2 separate regions of the Homo sapiens genome follow, and region 1 is linked to region 2. Evidence: promoter capture Hi-C in 16 types of primary human blood cells and fetal thymus (Javierre and others, 2016). All regions are on one chromosome and are shown on one strand. Each heading gives the region's core, a stretch centred on a gene start or on the middle of the fragment in contact. The rest is flanking DNA. Distances are from core to core; before and after follow the strand shown. Region 1 overlaps GPN1 (GPN-loop GTPase 1). Region 2 holds the start of EIF2B4 (eukaryotic translation initiation factor 2B subunit delta).

Region 1 (4,199 bases), core at 1,613-4,112, 260 kb before region 2:
CTTCCCCTTATTTTCTCTAGCTTTATTATATGAATACAGCATATAATACATATAATATATATGTAATGTGTGTTAATCTACTGTTTATGTTACCAGCAAGGTTTCCAATCAACAGTAGGCCTTTAGTAATTAAGTTTGGGGGGAGTCAAAGTTTTATATTTTGTAGAGATGGGGTTTCACCATGGTGCCCCGGCTGGTCTCTGCAGGGGTTGGCGCCTCTAACCCCCAAATTGTTCAAGGATCAACTGTATGTTTCATCATGAAATGATTACCAGCTGGGGGTGTGACTCATGCCTGTAATCTGAGCACTTTGGGAGGCCACGCTGGGAGGACTGCCTGAGCCCACGAGTTCAAAACCAGCCTGGGCAGCATGGCGAGACCCCACCTCTAAAAATAAATTAATTAATTTTTTTAAAAAGAAATGATTAACACTATCAGGCAAATCAAATAATTTTCTTTTAAACAATTAATATGAAAATGGGCCAGGCACAGTGGCTCATGCCTGTATTCCCAGCACTTTGGGAGGCCAAGGCGGGCAGATCACTTGAGGTCAGGAGTTTGAGACCAGCCTGGCCAACAAGGTGAAACCCCGACTCTACTAAAAATACAAAATTAGCCAAGTGTGGTGACTACTCAGGAAGCTGAGGCAGGAGAATCACCTGAACCCAGTAGGCGGAAATTGCAGTACGGTGAGATTGTGCCACTGTACTCCAGCCTGGGTGACAGAGCAAGACTCCGTCTCGAAAAAATATAAATAAATAAATAAATAAATAATTAATATGAAAATGAAATAATGCTGTCAATCTTCAGATTTCTATTTGGATCACAATTTCTTGCATCCACCAAAAAGGGACATCCCTTGTCATATCAGAAAAGACAAATGTTGGTGATGGCATTTGTGTACCCTCAAAATTAAATTCTCTCAGCTTTAATAACTGTCAGCCTTGCTCCTCAGTCTTAATGCACTAATCTAGTGAGGCATGCCCTTCCTCTGCTAATGGTGCCACATTTGGGGCAAACCAGTGCATTTTATTTTTTTGAGACAGGGTCTCACTCTGTTGCCCAGCCTGGAGTACAGTGACATCATCACAGCTCACTCCAACCTTGGCCTCCCAGGCTCAAGCAATCCTTCCACCTCTGCCTCCCAGGTAGCGGGGATTACAGGCACACACCACCATCCCTGGCTAATTTTTTGTATATTTTGTAGAGATGGGGTTTCACCATGGTGCCCAGGCTGGTCTCAAACTCCTGGGCTCAGGCGATCCTCCCACCACAGCCTCCCCAAGTGCTGGGATTATAGGCATGAGCCACCATGCCTGGCCACCTGTGCATTTTACAATTATGGATAAATCTTCTTATTCATGGTATCTCCTCATGTTACAATTTCACTCTACCAGCATCATTTAGGCCAGAGGACTCTATTCTTCTCTCTCTCTCTCGTTGCCCCAGGCTCTTGTTGCCCCAAGCCGGAGTGCAGTGGCACAATCATGGCTCACTACAGCCTCAACCACCTGAGCTCAAGCAATCCTCCCACGTCAGCCTCCCAAGTAGCTGGGACTACAAGGGCGTGCCACCACGCTGGCTAATTTTAAAACATTTTTTGTAGAGACAGAGTCTTGCTATGTTCCCCAGCCTGGTTTCAAACTCCCAAGCTCAAACGATCCTCCCACCTTGGCCTCCCAAGTGTAGGGATGACAGACCCAGCCCAGAGGACTTTATCTTTAAACTTGGATTTTATCCAACTGGGAACAACTATCAGACAGTTCATATTCATACATCACCTTTTTGTAACAACAAGGGAGGAAGATCAGAGGGTATTGAGAGAGAATGCCAACAGCACATGTGCCTCTTTTCTCCTCTGACCTTCCCCAGCTCACAGCCACTCAACTGAACAGCAAATCTGAATGAGCACAAATCCAGGGGTAAGCAACCAGATTCAAAAAAAAAAAAAAAAGAGGAAGAAGAAGAGAAAAAGGCCTTATACCTTGATGGAACACTTTCCCCACCAACAATCAATTACCTGCAGGCATAGAGCATGTTGGACATGAAGGTCACTGGGTTGGTACTTCTCGATGTGTCCATTACATAGATGACAACTGTTGGAAATGAGGATGCCTAAAGCCACAAAAAAATCAAAGCCTTGGTCAGAGGGCTCACGATCTGTCCTCAAACTCTTTTTCCACCATCCTTAACAAGGGAAAACCACTTTAGGCAGGGTGTGCAGAGCTTCTACAACTTCCTCCCATATAAAGTCCAAGGCAATTAAAAATAAATGCTCATCCAGTCTAGCCCCTCTAGCTACTCTCAGTAGCAAGTCCTAGAATACTCACAAGGGCTTCAGTGATAATTGTCCCAGAAGCTGACCAGGTGAATACCTCAATCTGTCCAGGTGTGTCAATCAACACATATCTATGTCAAGAAAGATCATTAAAGAAGTGTTACATTTGTGTTATGCTGAAGGATATTCCATCATATAAGACAATAAACATCTGGTTATCCAAGACTGGAGTAACCTCTGCACACTGCCAAATCTAACTTCCTCCTACTGGCCCTAAACTGCACATGATGATCCCCTAGACTTTGTTCAATGACCAATATTCACGCCAATGGGCAGGAACAGCAGACCATGAGTTGCTGCAAATGATCACAGGGGAAACTTTTATAGAAACACAATGCATTTAAAATGAAAGACACAAAACCAGAATGTAAATCTCTTGGGAAACATCTGGTTGCTTAGGGCGGGGGTGAGTGTGGAACAGAGGAAGAAGAATGGGAGGAATGGGAAAGTGCTAGCTGAAGAATATCAGGTTACTTCTTGAGATGATGAAAATATTCTAAAATTGACTGTGGTGATAGTTGTACAATTCTGTGAATATACTAAAAGCCACTGAATTGTATACCTTAAATGGGTGAATTGTATGGTATGTGAATTATCTCAATAAAGCTGTTTTTATGAACTATATCAACTTTTTTGTGAATTAATTTGATATAATTATGAATTATATCAGAATTTTTTTAATTGGCAAAGAATTCTAATAGACATTTCTCTAAATATATACATACCAATGGCCAATAAGTACATTAAAAAGATGTTCAATATCATTAGTTATTAAGAAAATAAAAGTAAAAACCACAATGAGATACCACTCTATATCCACTAGAATGGCTATAATCAAAAACAAGAAGAATAACAAAAGTTGGCAAGGTTATGGAGGAACTGGTTGTGGAGAAATCATATTGCCAATGGGAATGGAAAATGGGGTAGTCACTAGGGGCTAAAGGGAACAGAAAATAAGGAGTGATTGGTAATGAGTATGGGGTTTCTTTTCAGGATGACAAAAATATTCTGAAGATAGTAATTATCAACACACGACTCTGTGGACAGACTAAAACAACCATACACTTTAAACGAGTGAACTTTATGGTATATGAATTATATCTTAATAAAGCTGTCATTAAAAAAAAAAAAATACCTCCAGGCCAGGCTCAGTGGCTCACACCTATAGTTCCAGCACTTTGGGAGGTTAAGCCGGGCAGATCACTTGAGGTTAGGAGTTTGAGACCAGTCTGGCCAACATGGTGAAACCCCATCTCTACTAAAAATACAAAAATTAGTCAGGCATGGTAGCAGGCCACCTGTAATCCCAGCTACTCAGGAGGCTGAGGCAGGAGAATCGCTTGAACCCGGGATGCAAAGATTGCAGTGAGCCAAGATCACACCACTGCACTCCAGCCTAGGCAATAGAGCGAGACTCCATCCCAAAAATACAAAAATACAAAAATTAGCCAGGTGTGGTGGCTCACACCTGTAGTCCCAGCTACTTGGGAGGCTGAGGTGGGAGGATCACCTGAGCCAGGGAGGTGGAAGTTACAGTGAGCTGAGATCACTACACTGTACTCCAGCCTGGGCGACAGAGCAAGACCCTGTCTCAAAACAAAACAAAAGCTACCTCTAGTACCCCATTTTTGTAAAAGCACTTTTATCCATTCATCCTTCTATCTGTGTATATAGAAATGTGGAATGCTAGTCGCTGAATGATGATGTTACTTCTAGTGGGAATCGGGGTGATGGTTTCATCTTATAAATATCATGCATGGTTTGAATTTTTATAAAACAATAAATTATCTTTTTTAAAAAAAGTAAACCTTGAACAACAGCTAACTGGGTAATGGCCATAAGAACAAATATTTCCTATTCT
Region 2 (4,132 bases), core at 498-2,997:
TAGTGAAACCCCTCTCTACTAAAAATACAAAAATTAGCTGGGTGTGGAGGCAGCCGCCTGTAATCCCAGCTACTCAGGAGGCTGAGGAAGGAGAATCGCTTGAACCCAGGAGGCAGAGGTTGCAGTGAGCCGAGATCGTGCCACTGCACTCCAGCCTGGGCAACAAGAGAGAAACTCCGTCCCAAAAAAAGATATCAGGTAACTTGTTCAGGGTTGCACAACTAATTATCAGTGGAGCTCTACTGAGTTAAATAGAGTTTAAGATCTGGTAAGGAAGGAGGAGAAACATTGCATCACAGATACATAACGATAATTGGCACAGCTAAACACACTGAAATGAGCCGAAGAACACAAAAGGAAATCGGTGAATCGTTTGTATAAGCAGGGAAAAGAATTTCAAGTTGCCGCTCAGATGACAGAAGGAATGTGCTTTGACAGCCTGGGTGGAGGTAGTGGGGGGAGGGGTTGGTTTGTCCATGCAGGGGTAAAGGCTACTAGAGCAGTAAGACTGGACAGAAAACCAGAATATAAGAACAGGAAGGAGCAGTTGTTGCGCGGACATTAAGCTTCTTAGGGAGTTCCCGGAAATGTCAGACAAGATAAACCAGGGCCCTACCCTGTGGCAGTGATTAAAGGGGAACTACAGCCTACGGGAACAAGAAGAGCGGGTAAAGGGAGACACTGATGTCCACGTGTAGGGAAGGGCTTGAAGCTGTCTCAAGGCAGGGGTGCTAGTCCCACCTGCTCGTGCAGCCCCAGGAGCTGGCTGTAGCGCACCCGACAGTGCAGGACTCCATTCACGTGAATGTTATAGGCCTGAGGACACAAAAGTAGTCAAGCATTTTAGGGTTGCGGTCTGCGCAACCCCCCTGAGAACCCTGGCCGGAAGTTGCCTGGCAACTCGCCGGAGTAACGCGCTAATCTCCCGAGGGATAGTTCGCTTGTTTTCGCCAGGGCCAAGTCCCAAAGCTGAAGAGCCAGTCCGGGGGAAATTCGGACGCTTGTGTTGCAGTCTCACTGCCCAAGAGGCCAGTGACGCCCACCAGGGCAGCTGCGGCCTAGCTCGGGGAAGCGACCCGGCCTAAGGGCCTACAGGAGCTCGGGCGACCACTGCACGAATCACACACATGAGATAAGCTCCCAGAGAGGCCGTCGGGAGTCGGCGGCCCAGGACCAGGCCCGAAGGGTGGCGGTCAGGCCTCAGAGGCCGCTCCGAGATGGCTCGGGCCCGTTATCCCCGCCCCTGCCCGGCCCGGCTCGGCTCCGGCCGCTCCTCACCACGTAGGCGGAGCCGCCGCTGTCCCCGCTGCGGGACTCGGTTTCGGGAATGGAAAAGTGCATGTTCCCTACGGCACGGCACGGCCGGGCTCCGGACTGTGAGGGCCGCAGCGGCTCTGCACGCTCCCCCTCCGCTGCTCAGCGAGTCCCCGCAGCCTCACTCGCCATTTTGGGAGCCCTGCGATCCGATGTGGGAAGGCGGTGGGACGTCGGTTCTGGGACGCAATCGCCTGGGCATGCTGGGAACTGTAGTCTAAAGGGCAAGAGCCACCTGTCCGGATAGGGAGCCCAAAGTGGAGTTGGCCCTCATTGCAACCCGTAGTGCGGGGCGGGGCCTCGGGGCCCGTCGGAAATTGTAGTCCGATTGGGGCTGCGCGCTTCGCTTCTGCGGCTCAGCCTCCAGCCCAGGTGGCGCTGTGGACCCTGCAGCCGCGGAGCGAGGCAGCGGGGCGGCTCCGTGACCACGGCGGGCGGAGCCTAGGACTGAGGGCGATGGCTGCTGTGGCCGTGGCTGTTCGCGAGGGTGAGTGAAGAGCCGGGCCTGCCTACTGGTACGCGGAGCCGACGAGCTCCGGACAGCTAGTGCCGGGCCTTGAGCGCCTTTGGGCCCCGCCGCTCCGTTCCAGCGCCACGCTGGGCTCCGGTCTACACAGTCTCGAGCGCAGTCCCGCGCCGCGCACCGGCTGGTTGCTGTGAGGAGGGTCGGTGACCCCTCCATTCCTTTGATCCGCCGCGCAGTGCGTCCCCACGCGGATCCCTGGCTCGCCTCGCGCCTGCCGGCGGATCCGTGGTCATGCCAACCCAGCAGCCGGCTGCGCCGAGTACTCGTGCCCCCAAACCCTCCCGGAGTCTCTCTGGCTCACTTTGTGCCCTGTTTTCTGATGCAGACTCGGGATCCGGGATGAAGGCGGAGCTTCCCCCTGGGCCTGGGGTAAGTGAGGCTTCCCTCCCAAGCCGCCTGCCAAGCGCTACGCAGGAGGCTGTGCCAGCTTTATTCCGCCCCAGCTCCCATCCCGTGTCGGTTTATTTCTCAGTAAAGCCAGGAGATTTTACAGAGGTCTTGCAACCCTAGGGATATATGATTCTGTCCCTGGAGGAGAAACGTCAGCCTCTGTGGATGTAAGCTTGCAACAGGTAGCTTGTGGAAGTTAGGAAGAACTAGGGATTTAACCATGTGGAAATCTTGTAAGCATCCAATAGTATTTGTTCCCCTTTGGAATTGTTGGGGAAGAGCAGTATCCTATGTCTGTGTCTCAGGCAGTGGGGAGGGAAATGACCAAAGAAGAAAAGCTGCAGCTTCGGAAGGAAAAGAAACAGCAGAAGAAGAAACGGAAGGAAGAAAAGGGGGCAGAACCAGAGACTGGCTCTGCTGTATCTGCAGCCCAATGTCAAGGTGAGTGAGGGGTCTCTTTTAAAGGGCTGGGGTGTGGAGCTGGTAGAGGGATGTGGTGGGAGAGATAAGGGAGAGACAGGACAAAGTTGATTTGAGCAAGTGTGTAAAGCAAAGAGGTTTACAAGGAGAGAAGCTAGTTTTAGCTGGGGCACGGATATCACCTGCCTGCAGCTTGGGCATTTTTTTTTTTAATGCTTTTAGTAGGCCCAACCAGAGAACTGCCAGAATCGGGCATTCAGTTGGGCACTCCTCGGGAGAAAGTTCCAGCTGGTCGGAGTAAGGCCGAACTTCGGGCTGAGCGTCGAGCCAAGCAGGAGGCCGAGCGGGCCCTGAAACAGGCAAGAAAAGGGGAACAAGGAGGACCACCTCCTAAGGCCAGCCCCAGCACAGCTGGAGAAACCCCCTCAGGTATCTTCCCTTCATTTTAAGACCTCCCTTACTCCTAATTATAACGCCAGCTCAGGCTGCCCAATAGTAAAACAGCTCTCCCCTCTCATTCTTGGGACCCAGAGTTCTGAATTGTTCCTGCAACCCCATTATCCTATCCCTATTTCCTTTTCTACCCTATTCTCCCGTTTTCTCCACCTCATCCTGTTTTTCTTGATGCCCCTTATACCCTAAGAGCAAATTACACATTTCAAGACCTACAGTGTCCTGAAAACATGATGATTATCTTTCAGGAGTGAAGCGTCTCCCTGAGTACCCTCAGGTTGATGACCTACTTCTGAGAAGGCTTGTTAAAAAACCAGAGCGTCAACAGGTAGGAAGTGGGTTTGGTGCCTGGCTAGAAAGAGCCTAGGGAAATGGACTGGAGGGAGGAAAGGTGCTGGGTGCAAAGTGAGAAGGATAGGTGCTTGGGTCAGAGTAGTCTTACTGTTCACTTCCTTTCCAGCTTTATCCCATCCTTTTTAAACTCTGGGCCATTGGTCCTGTTCCCTTGTTTTGTCAAGGTTCCTACACGAAAGGATTATGGATCCAAAGTCAGTCTCTTCTCTCACCTACCCCAGTACAGCAGACAAAACTCTCTGACCCAGTTTATGAGGTAGGATCCTATGAAATTGTCATAACTTTTGAGTCTGAGGAGTTTTAGTAAGTCAGTATTGAAAGTTTCTAGTAATCTGAGATGGACTCTGTAGGAAAAAGTATGAACCCAAGGCAGAACTGTAGAGGAGTGGGGAAATCTGCTAGTGAAGGGAGTTCCTTTTCATCAGGGGCAGGTGGGCAGTAGATGCTCAAGCTCCCTTTCAAAGTATGTGACACCGCCATCCCATCAGCATCCCATCCTCTGTGATCCACCCAGCCATGGTGCGACTCGGCCTGCAGTACTCCCAGGGCCTGGTCAGTGGCTCCAATGCCCGGTGTATTGCCCTGCTTCGTGCCTTGCAGCAGGTATGTCCCATCCTGTTCTCTCTTATGATCCAACCCCACCTCCCCCAATACTACCCCAGCTTCTGTCACCCA

The links. The method cuts DNA at HindIII sites, captures the fragments that hold promoters and counts their contacts. A CHiCAGO score of 5 or more calls a contact.
Region 1: a fragment that was not itself captured here is called in contact with the fragment with the promoter of EIF2B4 in region 2 in 13 of 17 cell types (naive B cells, megakaryocytes, erythroblasts and 10 more); the score reaches 13.7 in naive B cells.

What each region holds. Positions count from the first base shown.
Region 1 is chr2:27,633,056-27,637,254 of GRCh38, reverse strand. It overlaps GPN1 (GPN-loop GTPase 1), which reads right to left. Exons shown (of 14, transcript NM_007266.4): 6 at 2,331-2,409; 7 at 2,021-2,115. Among named protein-coding and RNA genes, the nearest start is that of GPN1, 6.1 kb to the right of the region's middle. The HindIII fragment of the contact is 9,452 bases long and covers 1-4,199 here.
Region 2 is chr2:27,367,953-27,372,084 of GRCh38, reverse strand. EIF2B4 (eukaryotic translation initiation factor 2B subunit delta) reads left to right here and starts at 1,747. Exons shown (of 13, transcript NM_001034116.2): 1 at 1,747-1,801; 2 at 2,166-2,209; 3 at 2,536-2,671; 4 at 2,873-3,079; 5 at 3,352-3,431; 6 at 3,622-3,713; 7 at 3,946-4,060. The coding sequence starts at 1,771. SNX17 (sorting nexin 17) reads right to left here and starts at 1,469. Exons shown (of 15, transcript NM_014748.4): 1 at 1,279-1,469; 2 at 742-816. The coding sequence starts at 1,341. RefSeq lists enhancers at 1,087-1,176, 1,397-1,456, 578-1,539, 1,477-1,566, 1,787-2,066 and 1 more. The HindIII fragment of the contact is 1,836 bases long and covers 569-2,404 here.